4 separate regions of the Homo sapiens genome follow, and all the other regions are linked to region 2. Evidence: promoter capture Hi-C in 16 types of primary human blood cells and fetal thymus (Javierre and others, 2016). All regions are on one chromosome and are shown on one strand. The core of a region is centred on a gene start or on the middle of the fragment in contact, and the rest is flanking DNA. Distances in the headings are between cores, read along the strand shown.

Region 1 (4,292 bases), core at 633-3,132, 580 kb before region 2:
TGGGACTTAAACCCTGCTTATTCTTCTAGCCTAGTTTCCCTTAACTCCTTGGATACATCTCAGCTGCACTGGGTATTCTACAGTTCCGCAAATTCATCATGGCTTTTCATGTTCCAAAGGAGGGTCTCCATACAGCAGAATGAGTTTGGGATTTGGAGTCTGCATGCCTGGGCTCTCCAGTTCCAGCTTTACTACTTACATGGATCACCTGAACCTCTTAAGATCGCAGTATCCTTATCTGTAAGATGTGTAGAAGGATGCTTACTTTATAACGTTATGTGGGGATTTCAAATAACATAGAAAGCACCTACTATAGTGTCTAGCACATAGAAGGTACTCAAAAGATAGGAAGAATGATGATGATGACAATGACAATGACGATGCCATTTTTGTCTCTGGGCCTTTGTGCATGTGGTTTCCTGTATCTGGAATGCCTTAACCCCCTTTCTTGATCAGCTCTCCTCACCCTTCACAATTCAATGTGAACATCCTCCAGGGAATTTTCTTAGGCCCTTTCTCTGGTCTCCTCATTTATGGAAGCTTCTTCATGCTTCCATCGCACTCTGCATTGACCTGAATGACAGTACATTTCCCAACAAGGCGTTAGTCATGTGGTTCCTTCACTGTTTAAAATTTCTTTTTTTTTAAATTATACTTTAAGTTTTGGGATACATGTGCAGAATGTGCTGGTTTGTTACGTAGGTATACACATGCCATGTTGGTTTGCTGCACCCATCAACCCGTCACCTACATTAGGTATTTCCCCTCATGCTATCCCTCCCCTAGTCCCCCGCCCCCCAACAGGCCCTGGTGTGTGACATTCCTCTCCCTGTGTCCATGTGTTCTCACTGTTCAACTCCCACTTATGAGTGAGAACCTGCAGTGTTTGGTTTTCTGTTCCTGTGTTAGTTTGCTGAGAATGACAAGGGCTAATATCCAGAATCCACTGTTTAAAATTTCAAATGCCCAAACCTTGAAAGCTGCTACTCTGAAAATCCATTCTGAACAGTCTCGTGCTTTTTTGAATTCTGAAAATGAATGTTTCAAAGTGCTCATAGGTGAGTCCCCTCTTCCATTAACTAAAGGTGACTATTTCCATGTCTTCTTCAGCTTTCTCCTCAATGAGTACTGTCCTGTGTTGGGAATTGGCATCAGTTGTCTCTCATACCTTTTTCCATTCAATCATCTTCAGAACTCTGCAAAGGAATATTAATCCTGTCTACAGATGGGAAAACTGAGACTCAGAGGATGTAGATAACTTTCTCAAAGTCACAGCTGGATGCTTCTTGGGGTACCTTGCCTGAAGAAATGTTGCATATAGATCTTTCACACTTGGATGTGGGCCAGTGGCAGTTGATAGGACCATTCTGAGGCAGGATCAAGAAACAACAGGCAATCAATCCTCCAGGCAGGTAAACAACATTTCATGTATGTTTTCTAAATTTAATGCTGAAAATGAAGCACGTCCTATGTGTCTCCACAGGGAGAGGACTCTTGGAAGCTTGTACATGGCTTCCTCTAAGACCTCCCTTCTCATGCCTTTTCCCTTTGCAGGTTTTGCATTGTATCCTTTAGCTGTGATAAATCTTATTTGTGAGTGCAAGTAAAAAAAAAATCCCCCAGGCAAAGGTAGGCAAGCATCCTGGCCCTGCCACTCACTGGCTGAGTGAGTTTGGCCCACTTAATTCACTCCCCATTGTCTCAGTTTCCTTATCTGTAAAATATGGATAATAATAGTACCAACATTACAGAGTTATAGAGAGAATTTAATGAGTCAATACATTTAAAGTATTTAGCACAGTGTCTGGCATGTGGTGAGCACTCAATTAAATGTTAGACATTATTATTGTTTCTAGGAAACAGAGGAGTGAGGGAAATGTATGAATGATATTATTACTACTAATAGGTCCAAAGGGGACTAATCCCATAGCAGCTTCAAGTTAAGTAAAGCTGAGTGTCTGGACAGCAGGGGGACATGGTGACCTAGGCAGGGAGTTAGCAATTCTCAGTGGTCAGAAGCAAGTCAAGAGGCAAAAAGCTAAAAAGGTAGTTGAAATGGTGACAAGACTTGAGATAAACCACTTTTTCATTTCATCCTTTCTCAGAAAGGCTGAGCCAGTGAGAGGCATACCCAGCCCTTGGAAGGTCCACTTATACAAGTACAGGGGATTTTGAAAGGGAAGATCACTCCACAGCATTGGGAATATCTCAGAAGTAATACACTGGAAAAATAGAAACCGCAGAGACACAAAAAGAAGCTTAAAAGACATTAAATATAGCCACTTTTGATATTTTTATGTTTATCTGTTTCTTTATTTTTTCCTATGCATGTGTAATTTTTAAGAAAATGAAAATCATGCTGTAAAGACAGTTTTTAACCTGTTTTCTTTAAATTCAAAATATAACTTGAATACCTTTTAATACCTGCTGTCAAGTATTTCTCCGCAGCATAATTTCTCATACCTGTCAAAATATAATTCTGATTATACAACTGCAATGAAAGAATAGGGGGAGGCATCCCAAGAAGCTAATGGGATCATATAAGGAGCTCTTGTATATGTTCAGCTTTGAAAAAGAACACATTCAAAACCTTGCAAGACCAGATTCTAAGCATTGCATCCCAGTGTCATCTGCAAACTTGATCATTTTGTCTTTTAGATATTTCTTCCATGTCATTCATTGTGGCCACCATGGTAATGTGCATTGCTGTTCCAACTACAGAGAACATCCTTGACCAAGGGCTCCAGCTGCCGTACTCTGCTGTTTGATCTCTCTCTGTTTGATTTTTCAAGGTCAGACTTACATTGCAGTCTGAGGCCACTCTGGGCCTCTCTGGCTCTAGTCCCATTTTCTCTCACACGTTTCCCCCAGTGAAATCATTGAACACTTAATCCGGTCTCTGTATCTACTTCTTGCAGGTCCCAAACTAACGCACTGATTAACAAGGGAGTAAATTGGGGCTGGGGTCAGAGGCCTACTGTACATGTCGCATTGCAGGTTACTATTTAGCCATCAGACCAGGAAGCTAGTCCATAATGACCCTGAACTGCCATCTATACCTTTTTGAAGCCATTTGGTCCAGCTGAACCCCAGGGGCTGGCAGGAACCAAATGTACCTTTTGGATACCGACAACTAAGGCTTCATAGGCTTCATAGGAAATATTTTTCATTTTCAAATTGCAGATGTCCTAGCTCACTATAGTCTATGAAATTAGCCAATTTTACCTGAAGGCCAGCCTGATTGAACAGCTACATGCTGACCCTGATGTTAGATAGCATCAGTCTTTCCAGCTCTTTGGTCAAAGTCATTACTCTCAAATATCACCACAGTCCCTGCCAATAATTATAATAAGAGCTAACATTTATTGAACACACAATTTGTGCCAAACACCAGGTATAGATTATTTTATTTCATTCTCATAACTACTCTATGAAGTAGGTCCTATTTTTTCACCCCAGGGAAGTTAGGTATTTGTTGAAGGTCACATAACTAATTAATAGCAACATTTAAAGTCAAGTCAGCTGGGCACAGTGACTCACGTCTGTAATCCCAGCACTTTGGGAGGCCGATCTGGGCACATCACGAGGTCAGGAGATCGGGACCATCCTGGCCAACATGGTGAAACCCCACTTCTACTAAAAATACAAAAAATTAGCTAGGCATGGTGGCGTGCACCTATAGTCCCAGCTACTCGGGAAGCTGAGGCAGGAGAATCGCTTAAACCCGGGAGGCAGAGGTTGCAGTGAGCCGAGATCGTGCCACTGCACTCCAGCCTGGCGACAGAGCAAGACTCTGTCAAAAAACAAAAACAAAAACAAAAACGAGTTAATTTAATTCACAACTTTTCCTCTGAATTACTAGAATAATCACACCAGGAACAGACTCACGGCAGCTTTTCCTGCCAGTGATATGTCTATGTGAGGACCTCAGGCTTTATTTACTCAACCTGCTTGCTAGGCAGTGACTTTGGCCTTCACCAGCCCTGACTCTCACTCCAGGATGGGAAGTGGTGCTGGATGGGGTGGACTTGGGTAAGGGGTTGTGTCCAAATTATCGTGCAGGGAAGTTTGCAGCTGAGAAGACAGCAGGTGTGCTCTAATCCTGAAAAGCCAGCTGGCAGAGGAGCTGGGATTACAGGAAAGCCCGTGCATCTCACTCTTTCCATTTGGGACACCATGCTCATGAATGATCTAATGGAGCAATCATGGGCTATAAGCACAAAAAGTAAAGAGAAATGATTTAGGCAGGGCTTTTTCCGCCCCCAAAAGTCCAGGGTGATTCTACCGAAAGA
Region 2 (4,044 bases), core at 235-2,734:
TCATAAAATGAGAACACTGAAAAAAAAAAAAAAACTCCATGTATCAATAAGTAAATTGAGGCCCCAGTCTACAGCTCTTTGATTTCTACTAGAAATATAAGCTATTTACTATAAACATTTTATTTTTGAACTTCAAAAAAGTTTGTTTTCACATTTTAGATCATGAAAGACTGAGGCTTCAGTGGTTTTAGCCCCTAAATGGGTTGTTTAGGCCATCTAGCAAAGGAAAAAAAAATAGAACATGAATGCTTTAAAAAGTTAGTAAATTTGGATAACACTTAGCAGATAGCCTAAAATGCACCGATTTAAAAACATAACAGCATAAAAAGTTTTCTGACATAGCTTATCTTTAATAAAATGAAAATATAATGGGAGGGGGTTGGGCTGGGTAGACTTCGAGTAACAAGTTGGGTCCCATGCAGTAGTCCCTTGTCCAAGACAAAAAGCTTCCTTTAACCACATGTAACAGTCATCTTGTGGGAAAGGCACGGAGGGGGCTGAGAAGTCATCACCTCAGTGACTCTGAACAGAACCAGCATTTCTCACGCCACACTATGGGCTGGGCTAGGTCGGGGAGCAAGCTACAACTTTGCCCTTAAGCAGCAGTACCGAAAGGGAGAAAGAGGTCACCTCTCTCTTAGCCCTACGCACACAGGAAGAGCCCAATTCAAGCCGCCGCCGCCGCCACCCCTGGTGTTGCCCCGCCCCAACTTGAGTGTGTGTTTGGGGTGGGGGGTGTAGGGCACTCACTACTCGCGTTATACCCCACAAATTCCAAGGCACTTCCATCTCTCCCAGGTTAAGTTCCGCCCCCCCATCCCCAACCGTGCCAAGCTCAGCAGGCGCAGGTGTCTGTGGCTCTGGCCTATTTTTATACCCCCAACCGCCCTCAATCTCCACCTAGTTGCGCGCTCCAGTCCCGCCTCGCCTTCCCAGCGAAGAGCACTACCTAGCCTACACACCAGGAAACACCTCCAGCCCTACTCCCAGGTCACCTGGCCATAGTGACCGGCCCTGCCCTCAGGGGAGCCCTGGGGCCGTCCCTTGTCGCCGGTGCCCAGCACCGAGGGCGCACCGGGCTCCCAAGCAGTCACGTGGGCGGCGGGGGCGGCCTGCGCTTCCTCACCTGCATCCCAGGCACTTGGACAGCCACCGGCGAGTGGGCCATGGAGGCGAATGCTGCCTCGCTCCGCTTCTGCGGCGGTGGCGCCTTGGGTTCGGACTGGCTCCTCCCTCCGGGGGTAGTTCGGCGGCCCTCCCAGGCTTTTCGATCGGGGCCTGGGAGGACACACAAAAGTGGGGTTACTGGGCTGGCGGCGCGTAGCCCGGGGCTAGGAGGTGGGCTGTTAGCGGCGCAGCTCCCTGGGACTCAGTCTACCTTTCTGGCGCCCGCCCGCCGCTGAAGCAGCCGCCTCCGCTGCTGCTCCTCTTCCTGAACGCCGAGCGCTGTGAGTGGTGGTGGCTGGGACCTGGGCTCGAGTGATGCCGCTCCTCTGCGCCTCGCCGCTTTAGGAAGAGGAGGTGGAGGCGCCCCAGCCACCCGCCTGCTCGCCTGGCCTGGGAGGCGGTTGGGGGCGGTTCCGCCGTTGGCCCTGCCCCCGCCCCGCAGCCGGGCGGTGTCGCGGGAGCCAAGGCTCCAGGCAGCGAAGAGGTTTGGCTGGGGTTGCTGGAGTCTGAGAAGCTGGAGACTCTCCCGGCACGCGGAGAGGAGAACCCGGGGACCCGGAGACCTGGGACATGGCTGGGCCTGGGAAGAGAATGGAAGAGTTTGGGAAACCCTGAGGGTATGAGGGCGCCCCAGATGCGGCCACGTTGCAGGGAGGCGTGCGAGGCTGGGGCACACGCAGCCTCGGAGACGACTTGAGCTGAAACTTGGGGAGTGTTGGAAGTCTTTCTTGGCTCCCCGGCCTGGCCAAGGGTAGGATTACAGATAGCCGCGGAGTCGGTGGACCCCCGCTTTTTCCCGCCATCTGGTCTCCTCAGCTGGGGGTCGCGCCTCTGGGCAGATCTGTGGCCACACTCTTGCTTTCCGAGTTCCCTGACCCCAAACATGCTTCAGGTGACTTCAACTTAAGGTTCCCCCTACCTCCTGGGCTATCCCTTGCAGAACGGCCAAACTAGGGCTTCTCTCTACCACAAGTTCTGCACGTGTAAGGCAGAGGGAAATTGGAAAACAGATGGTACATCGGCAGAAAAATTAATGAGGATAGTAGAGGCTTGGGAAATGAGATTGGATCGTTAGCAGTACAGGTTATTGAAATCAGCATACACTGCAGTGGTTTTGGTAACTCCCTGCCTCCGCCCCATTTTAAGTTCTACTCCAGGAGAGGGAGACAGGCTCTTTTGAGAGTACTCTAACAGTAGCGACAGTAACACTGGTAATAATAGTAACAGGAATTTCATTATGAAGGCACCTTTGGGAACACGTAAGGGGTTAATTACTTTTTAAAAAAGTAATAGTCGAGTGCCAGTTTAAAATGAAGATGAAGTTCCTTACCTTGAAATTTGTTATGGGTCTCTACGCACCACACGGTGGGGGGCCTCTAGTGGTAAAAGATAGTTTCTCTTCTTCCTTTTAAATCTTTTTCAGAGAATAGTATATAATTCTTATCAATATCGTTATTATTAATGGATATTATTTTCATTGTGCCAGGGACTGCTAAGTGCTTTCTATGTGTTATTAATACCTTACTGAACCTGTACAAGGGCCTTCTGGAGTCTTATTGATTTCCCCTCATTTTACAGATGAAGAAAAAGGCTCAACCAGGTTAAATAATTTGACCGAAATGTCACGCAATTAAGAAGTGGTACAGCTGGGAATTCAGACGCAGGTCCCTCTGACTGGTGATAAACTTACTACTTTCTCTATGGTTTCTGTTTGTGTTTAATGATGATAAAAGGTACAATTGCATTTTCCTTACTCCTAGTTCCCCAAGTCCAGCCCTTCACTATTTCTAACCTAATGTTAGGCTCCAATCTAGTCTCGATTTCCCACCAACCCAGCTCACAACATTGCCAGCCTGACCGGAAACCTGCAGTGCCACCTAAACTTTTAATGTCCATAGAAATCCGAGGGTTCTTTTGCTCCCTCAAAAGCGCAGATTTTTATCTCCCATGTCTGGACTGGGCCCAAGATTCTGCAATGCTAACAAGCTCTCACATGGTGATGATGTTTAGATCACACTTTTAAGTCGCAAGGGTCTGAATCAAGCTCCATCATTTAAGACCTGTCTCAAATCTCACCTCCATTGACCCTTCCTAGTTGCTCCAAGCCCTCCTTCAAACTCCTCCAATGTGAGCAGCGCTCACACTGTAGTTCTTTCTTCTTATTTCATATATTTCATTTGTTTTGTGTGCCCATATTAGGTCCTTGAGGGCAGAGATCCAGCCTCTCTTACATGAGAATGATTCAGGTAGGATGGCAGGAGTCTGAGGGCAAGCTTTTTATACATTTTGTCCATTGCTGTATCCCCAGAGACTAGGTTCATGGCATGTAGTAGGCCCTCAATAAATAATTGTTGAATGAATGAATGAACTTCTTTTGAATTCTCCACTGAGGTTACTAGGTGCATAATGTATACACTATATATTTTATTGATGTCAGGTTAAACCCCTAGGCATTGCCCTTACTGAACATTTAAATTGTTCAGTTTATTGTGTGTTACATCTTTCATTATTTAGTCTCCAAAATTCTTTCCTGCTAGTTTAATTTCACAACTACTTATGAGCCAGTTGTATAATTTTGATAGATAAGTAAATTAAGCATATCAGAGAAATGACTTTCTCTGACATCATTCTGGGCCAGAGTTATGTAACTATGTGGAAGAATAAAAGCTTAATGCTGAGACCTGGAATATTGAGACATTTCCTGAAAGACATTGCATTTGAGATCTTAGTGAGCTTTTTAGCCTTTATTTAGGTTTACTGCTATTAAATAAAGCATCAGTTGTTGTTATAATTGATAGAGATCACTTGAGTTTTTACATGGGATTGCTTGTGGGCTTTTAAATGATTTTTCCTGTGTGTGTGTGTGTGTGTGTCTGT
Region 3 (3,910 bases), core at 1,021-3,520, 560 kb before region 2:
GAACTAACTTCCCTCTCTCCTCTCCTCACAACCATTGGCAATTACTAATCTACATTCTGTCTCTGTAGATTTACCTATTCTGGATATTTAATATAAATGGAATGATGTATTATGTGGCATTCTTTGTCTGGCTTCTTTTACATGGCATAATGTCTTCAAGGTTCATCCATGTTGCAGCATGGATCAGCATTTCATTCCTTTTTATGGGTGAATAATATTCCATTGTATGATTATACCACATTTTGTTTATCCATTCATCAACTAATGGGCATTTCAGTTGAAATTCTATTTTGAATAATGCTGCTATGAACATTCCTTTACAAGCTTTTGTGTGGATATGTGTTTTCATTTATCTTGGGTACATATTTAGGATTGGAATTGCTGGCTCATATAGTAGCTGTATGTTCAGCATTTTGCCAGTGGGTTCTTAGCCATAGTTTTTAACACTCTTTTCTAAATTTAATTGAATTTAAAGAGATTGTAAATGAGTATGCTACATAGGCTTAATTAAGTAAAATTTTTCCTCAATACCATTTGTGAAGTTGAATTTAAAATTCAAAGTAAGTTTATACAAAACATGAATTCTTCAAATTGCCTTCTAATTAGATAATTAGTCATATTGGTACATTTTAGTATCTTATGCAGGTACATTGTCTTAAAAACAAGACCATTATCTGCTTGATAATGCATAGGCTAATTTCTGTGTTTCCCTGGATGTTCTTCCCTTAACATGAACTTGCCTGGAGAAGAAGGAAGAAAAACATAGCTTTTTCCATTTTCAGGTTAACAGTCTGTTATATTCCTAGTTGTTATGGCCACAGGTGTAACAATACAGAAGCTTGGGGACCCTCCTAAAGTGTAGTCAAGTCAAGCTCAACTGGTATGAAGTCAAAGCAATGGTGATAGAGGAAGACTTGAAAATCATCACTGGGATAACCAGTCCAAATTCAAGGCTCATTGCTTTTCTATGACAATCTTGGCCAACTGTGTTCAGACAATTGCAATAGCACGTTGATATAGTGCATTTGTATGTGCCTACCACTGTGCTAATTGCTTTACATGCATCATTTCATTAAACTCATTTTACAGCTGGAAAAACTAAGGCCTGGAGGTTTAAATAACTATCTCGAGATAATAAGACATATAGTAAGGCAAATTTAAAATGCAGGTCTGTCTGAATCCAGAGTCCACACTTTTAATTACCTAAGTTCTACTTTGATGAGAGCTTAACTTCACAGCTTTTAAATCTTCTGCCCTTGCCCGAGAGAGAGAGGAAAAAAAAAACCAAAATAATTGTTTTCTTCTTCCACACATTCTGGTACTCATGATTGCCAAGTGGCAATGCGGGTAGGTGGTCTCAAAATGACCCTTCTATTTACCGGATGTACCATAAAAACAGTCAGGAGAGGAATAGCCTTCTGCTCCTCTGGCGATAACTACTATAATTACATGTTCTGAATTTTCCAAGAAAGGATGGAGGAGAAGATTAAAGAGGGCCTGCCAATACCTTCCCTGCCCGTATCCCCATTCTCACCTCCGGCAACCTCCTCCCTCATATACTATGTTTTGGCAATATCCAAATGCTGGTAGTCTCCTGCACGTACTATGTTGTTTCTCACCTTTCTCACCCCTGAGGCTTTGCTCATGTTACTTCTATCTATGGAATGCCTTTCTCCTCTTCTTAACTTGGAAGAGCTCCCAATTAACCTTTAAGGCTCATCACCTGCTTTGGGAAGCCTGCCCTAATCTCTCTTTTGTTCCTTCCTAACAGCATATGCACAGATTTATATTGTGGTATTTTCCACACTGTAACTAAATTGTCTATTTCTTGGTCTCCTTGTCTTCATTGTGACCTCCTTAAGAACAGACACTCTATCTCATTTGTCTGAGTTTCAATGCCTAGTACAGTGATTGCCACACATAGCAAGTGCTCGATAAATATTTATTGAACGAATACATGAGTGAACACATAAACTAATAATTATGGTGCACTTATTACAGGGCAGGCCCTTTATAAATATCAAATTATTTAGTCCCAAAAACAAACCTTGGAGTTAGGTAGCAATATGTCCATGTGGATAGATGAAGGAATTAAAGCACAGATAACTCAGCTAGTATGTAGGAGTGCTAGAATTCAAACCCAAGCTTCAGTGGCTCCAATGTCTGGCTCTGTCCACATGCCCTTACTCTCTGCTACCATAGAAAACTGACTCTGGATTTTAAACCCCTGTTATCTGTGTCTATATATCATGGGAATGGCCCCCAAGTTCAAACATTTCCATGTACAAGTTGCATCCCTCACTTGTCACACTCAGAAGCAGCACACAAGACCTCTGTCATACAGCTTACCTGATTTTTATTTGATATTTTGGTGAATGTGGTCACAGAAGCTTGGGTAGAAGTCAAGTTCTGGTTCTTTTTAAAATTTAAATTAAATTAAAAAAATTTTTGAGACAGGGTCGCACTCTGTCACCCAGGCTGGAGTGCAGTGGTGAAATTTAGCTCATTGTAACCTTGAACTTCTGGGCTCAAGGGATCCTCCTGCCTCAGCCTCCGGAGTATATTTGGGACTACAGGCATGCATCACCATGCCAGGCTAATTTTTTTTCAGCTTGTTTTAGAGTCTTGCTATGTTGTCCAGCTGGTCTTGAGCTCCTGGGCTCAAGTGATCCTCCTGTCTAAGCCTCCCAAAGCACTGAGATTACAGGCATAAACTATCATGCTCGGCCAAGACCTGATTCTTTATGAAGCTCTTTTATTGTATGCTTATTATTCTGCTTGCCTTTGAATAGTGGTCACCTCACTATGCACATAGTGGTTACCTCACTATGCATGTCAAAGGCAAGCAGAAATGACTCTCTACAACCTAACAGTGTGGAAAACAAGGTTTAAGGACCTTAGCAAAACATAGCAAGAGGGAGTCAAGGGTGATAAAACATTTACTGTCAACATTTTGAGAGGAGTAGTTTTAAAGAATTTTATTTTTTTTAATTCACACAGATTTTAATTGCATCACCCAGTGAGAGCTGCTGGAAAGGCCCAGAGGCTTTTAGAAGTCCTTGTGAATGCATAGATATAAAATCTCTTACACTCCCTTTCTGATGCCACTGAACATCTTTGATTCTATCAAGCAGTAATGGAACTGGTTTGTGATCTCTGAAGTAGTACTGGATACCACCAAATTGGTTCTAAATAGTTTGCTTTGACGTAGGTCGTTGCGCTCACTCAGCACAAACCTCATTCTTTTCCTATCTAAACAAGAAATCATCTCAGGCCACCTCCATTATTATAGGCCATGAAACTGTGCTCCTGTAAGTCACTAAGAGGCACCTTTTTTTGTTCTTCCTCAGAATGTGCTCAAGGTAAAAGCCTAAATGGCAAAGCCAGAATTAAATGCCTCGTCCAGCCCTGACACTCATGTTCTTTCTAGTCCATTAAGCTGCCTTCCAAGTTCAAATCTGCAGCTCTCACAAGGCCATGGAAATGTCTCCTAAATTTTAACATTTCAGTGTCTAAACCATTTCTTCCTTCTTGCTTCTTGGTTCCCAGAAGCAAAAGGAAATATCTTACATGCTTTTCTTTACCAGAAAGATTTTGTTATATTATTCAGAAAAAGGTTTATTCTGCTAACCATGGCTGTAGATATTTACATTAATCATCTAAAGTTTTCTTGAAGACTCTTCTAAAAAACTTACACAGCATACTTCATCTAGCTTGTGATAAAGTACATAGAAGACTTCCTGAGCAACTATCCATTTACCTTTATCTCAGGAAAGGAATGCTAGCACCTTATTCCATTCTTCAAACATTTGCCACTGCATTGTGTCATCATTCCTGATATTCTGGTTTTATCTATCATTGGCTGTATTTTCTAACACTGGAGCAGAGTTCATTTTCTTTTGATTTTTAA
Region 4 (4,387 bases), core at 34-2,533, 600 kb before region 2:
AAGGGCCTGATTGTATAAAGATCCTACACCCCCTTGGGAGGATCTGTGAACAGGAACATAAAGTCCAAGAACTTGAAATATTTCAGAAATAAAGTTTGGTTCCCTTTTCCCCTGAGGAGGGTAGGTACTCATGGAGAGCAGGGCGCTCTAACTGTAGTGGAGAAAAGATAGGAAACCTGCTAAGGAAATGAGCTATTGAGGCAGCCCAGGGAGGAGCTAAAATGAAGAAACAACGAATTGGCTCGGTTCCTCAGGACTTAATTAGGATTCTCAATAGGGGTGATAACCAAGTACAACCAGAACTACCTTTGGGTGATGGGTCTAATAAAGCTGTCACAATGGGAAGGATGGTTTCCTTCCATGGGTGGAGTACGGGGGTAAAAAGAAGCATAAAACTTGCATGCTGGGTCTGAGTCACAGAAGAGAACCACAGAATATTCCAGGTTGGCGATGTGCAACCCACAGCTTTCTTGCATTCATTGACCTGAAGACACTGCTTTTGACACTGAAAGTTGGGAAAGGGGAGACAGCATATTCCTTTTGCACAAATGGCCATCAGAGGTGGACTGGAAGTTTCTTCTCTCTTGTCTTCTCTAGAGATTGAACCAAGCAAAGAAACAAAAGCCGAGTACTTTGTAGAAAGTTCTAGCAAAAACACAGAGTATGCTGACTCTGAAAGTAACCCTCTGGGACTGTGGAATAAGGCAACTCAAATCTCTCACTTGGCAAGAATGAGGCCGCCTGACAGTTTTAAGTGTCCAAGGAATTTGATCAACACCTCACAATTTCCAAGGTACATCCCTCAGACCTTCACAAATGGGCAAAGCCCTCAGAACTTCAGGAGAAAACTATCCTGAAAACAAAGCAAATGAGCTGTTTCTCAGTACAAATGGCACTGTTCTGAGCAGCTAGAGCAGGGTCCAAAAACTACTGTCCTGGGGCCAAATGCAGCCCTCTGCCTGCTTTTGTAAATATAGTATTATTGGAACACAGCACGCCCATTTCTTTGCATATTTTCCCTGGCTGCTCTCATGCAACAGTGGCAGGAGTCGTTGCAACAGAGATCTTATGGCCCCAAAAGCCTAAAATACTTATTTTCTTGCCCCCCAAAGAAAAAGTTGGTCAGCCCTGGAACGAGAGAGCAGATCAAAATTTCCTAAGTATTGAAAACTTGGCGGAGTTTATAATGACCCCAGAGTCTGAGAGAATAAAAGGATGTGATTCAAACAACATACTTTCCAATACCATATCACCACAAACAACATTTACTGAGTACCTACTATGTGAGAGTCACTGCTTTTAGGCCTGAAAGCACGGGAGAACCTGGTCTTTTCTCTCAGGATTGCAGAAATCCCAGCCACATGCTGTGTCAGTAATTATAGGTGAGAGCTTAATTAGTTCTTCATTAGTCTTACATAGCTGATGCCTGCCAGTTCCTTGGAGTGTGTGCGTGTGTGTATGTGTTTTATCACATGCTTTTAAAAATTAAAACAATATATAAGTATGTAAAGTAAAAAGTGAAATTACCTATACAACTCCCACTTCCCCAAAATAACTACTGTGATTATGATTTCCTCCAGACCTCCTTGTCCTAGCCACATTCAAATCTGCTATCTCTCCCCCTCCCCCTTCCCTCCTGCTCTTCCTCCAACCCAACCGCACACACAAACACATATATTTATTTAAAAGGATAAAACCATATTGTTCTCATTGTTACCTGATTTCTTTTTTTTTTTATGAAAAAGTTCAGCAGTGTATCATGGATTCCCTTCCAAAACAGGAATATAGTGGATGGTTTATCCCAACAAAATTGATTACTGCTGATGTTATAGGTTGAGAGTATAGACTCTATATGCATGCTGCCTGGGTTTGAATCCCAGCTCCACCATTTACCAGCTCTGTGACCTTGAGAAAGTCTCTAACCTCTCCATGCCTCAGTTTCTTCACCTATAAATGGAGAAAATAAAAGCTGTAACTTCAGAGAGTTGTTGTGAGGATTAAATGAGTTAGTATCTGTAAAGCACTTAACACTGTGCCTGATATAGAATAAACTTTACTTTTCATTTTTATTTTTTTAGAGACAGACTCTCACTCTGTCACTGAGGTCAGAGTGCAGTGGTGTGATCATAGTTCATAGCAGCCTCAACCTCTTGAGCTCAACTGATCCTTCAGCCTCAGCCTCTCGAGTAGCTGGGACTACAGGTGCACGCTACCACTGCCAGCTAATTTTTTACAATTTTAGTAGAGATAAGGTCTCATTATGTTGCCCAGGCTGATCTGGAACTCCTGAGCTCAATCCTCCCACCATGGCCTCCCAAAGTTCCGAGATTACAGGCATGATAAAATAAACTTTATATGTGTTTGATAGTATTATAATAATCATTATTACTGTTATTAGCATAAGGACTAGATGTCTGCTGAATTCCTATATCTTCAGTAGCTAAAGACTGACTCTGAGATCAAGAATTAAAAATATTTGCAAGAAAAAGAGTATATTTCCTGTTGTGACTAATTTAAGGAAACCTTTCTAAAAAATAAAACAAATGTGTTTCAAATGTAACATAATCAAATGTATAAAGACTTATCTTAAAGTTTACTTCTGAGCTTCGAATGCAGCCAGTGACAGAAACATTCTGAAAGATGTAACCCACAAAATGCCAAGTGAGTCACAGATTCTCTCTCCAGCAATGAAAAGGCATTATCTGGTGTCTCTGGCTGATTGGGGACCTACTTTATCACACTTAGCCAAGGATGACTCACTTCCAGCCCCGCCCGTTTCCCACTCATCTCTCCACCCAATATTGCTGGAGTATGGGCTTGTCTGCCTGATGAGATCTGCGAGGACCCCAAAGGTCTAGCTGCTTCCCTTATGGGCCTAGCTTGGTGCCTGGAATGCCTACACTCCAAGGTTCTCTTCTGTGGGTGAAAGGAGCATGTCCAGAAGACCCTATTAAGATGCATTTATGCCACCTAGGAGGGAGGAGAGAGAGTAACCCATTAAAAGTTAGCACATATTAGTTTTCAAATTAGTAGTCACAGAGGGCCCTCGGGGAATGGGACACACAGGGCTTGTAAATTCAGCTAGCTCACTTTACTTAAACAAAAAAAAAAAAAAAAAAAAAAAAGAAGAAAAATGAACTTCTGCATTTATCCAATTTGAATTTTTAAATTTTAGTCCTATTGCCTTAAGGACAGAATAAGGTTCAATAATCTTCATCAAATCTCATTAAGTTGTACAAATTCTATTTTCATTATGCCTGGTTCAATCTTGTGACTTCACTAATATTAGTAAGATTTAATGATGCCTAACTGGGCCTAAGAAAAGTTTAACAGTTTTTGTGACTTAAAAATGCTCTACTGGATTTCATGTAACTTATAAGGACCTGAGAAGAACAGTCAAGTCTTAAAAGAGAGTGCTACACCATAGCTTGATAGGACCTAACCAGCCAACTAGAGCCAATCTTAATCAGCCTTTTCATGGATTCATCCAAAACACAAGATTGCTTTTTTTTTTCTCAGTCCTGAAGGCGGTCTTCTGTCCCTGAAACTACCTAGAGTAGGATTACATGTTCATCAAGGCCCTTGAGACCATATGGCAAAGACATTATGAATTCGGTCAAAAAGATGGATTCTGGCTTCACAAGGCTGAACACATAGGAAGGAAGTTGAAATAAGGAGCCTGAACACTGATTAGTTAAGATGAATAGCATTTATCAAGGATAAGCTTGAAGGCTGGGCACTGTGGCTCATGCCTGTAATCCCTGTAATTCCAATACTTTGGGAGGCTGAGTGGGGAGGATCACTTGAACCCAGGAGTTCGAGACCAGCCCAGGTAACATGGCGAAACCTCTCTCTACAATATAGATAAAAATTAGCTGGGCATGGTATTGTGTGCCTGTAGTCTCAGCTACTCAGGAGGCCGAGTCAGGAGGATTATGTAAACCTGGGAGGTCAAGGTTGCAGTGAGCTGTGATTGTGCCACTGCACTCCAGCCTGGGTGACAAAGAGAGACCGAGACCCTGTCTCAAAAAAAAAAAAAAAATGGCTTGACCTAAGAAGCACTAACAAGCATCAGTAAGTTGTCCAGTTTCCCATCCCTTCCCAGTGTCCACATGCTTTCTCCAAACTCCCAGGACCTTGGCATATTCCCAGCACTCCCACTCTAAGGCAGGTTTGTATGTAGCCCACCTGGATGGTCCCAATGTCTTCTTAACTATCCTTCTGTCTTCAGCCTCTTTCTTGATCACCGGGCTCATCTTCCTAAAACTTTCTCAGAACAGAAGCTATGAGCCTGTGGCTTCAGAATCCTCCCTGATGTGGTTCAGAAATGCAGATTCTCTAGGCCGCACTGCAGATGATCTGAATCAGAATCTCCCACCTCAGCCTC

What was found. Contacts are between HindIII fragments. The CHiCAGO score rates a contact against its expected background, and 5 or more counts as called.
Region 1: a contact is called between a fragment that was not itself captured here and the fragment with the promoter of STK26 in region 2, in 3 of 17 cell types (naive CD4 T cells, total CD4 T cells and naive B cells). The highest score is 6.1, in naive CD4 T cells.
Region 3: a contact is called between a fragment that was not itself captured here and the fragment with the promoter of STK26 in region 2, in 1 of 17 cell types (naive B cells). The highest score is 5.5, in naive B cells.
Region 4: a fragment that was not itself captured here is called in contact with the fragment with the promoter of STK26 in region 2 in 7 of 17 cell types (total B cells, naive B cells, activated CD4 T cells and 4 more); the score reaches 12.4 in total B cells.

Annotation. Positions count from the first base shown.
Region 1 is chrX:132,602,594-132,606,885 of GRCh38, reverse strand. No RefSeq gene overlaps it. Among named protein-coding and RNA genes, the nearest start is that of HS6ST2-AS1, 63 kb to the left of the region's middle. The HindIII fragment of the contact is 757 bases long and covers 1,504-2,260 here.
Region 2 is chrX:132,020,742-132,024,785 of GRCh38, reverse strand. STK26 (serine/threonine kinase 26) reads right to left here and starts at 1,484. Exons shown (of 12, transcript NM_016542.4): 1 at 1,379-1,484; 2 at 1,127-1,278. The coding sequence starts at 1,168. RefSeq lists enhancers at 803-872, 842-1,389, 1,243-1,402, 1,853-1,902, 1,390-1,936 and a silencer at 1,443-1,692. The HindIII fragment of the contact is 2,994 bases long and covers 449-3,442 here.
Region 3 is chrX:132,582,808-132,586,717 of GRCh38, reverse strand. No RefSeq gene overlaps it. Among named protein-coding and RNA genes, the nearest start is that of HS6ST2-AS1, 83 kb to the left of the region's middle. The HindIII fragment of the contact is 245 bases long and covers 2,148-2,392 here.
Region 4 is chrX:132,620,710-132,625,096 of GRCh38, reverse strand. No RefSeq gene overlaps it. Among named protein-coding and RNA genes, the nearest start is that of HS6ST2-AS1, 45 kb to the left of the region's middle. The HindIII fragment of the contact is 4,887 bases long and covers 1-3,726 here.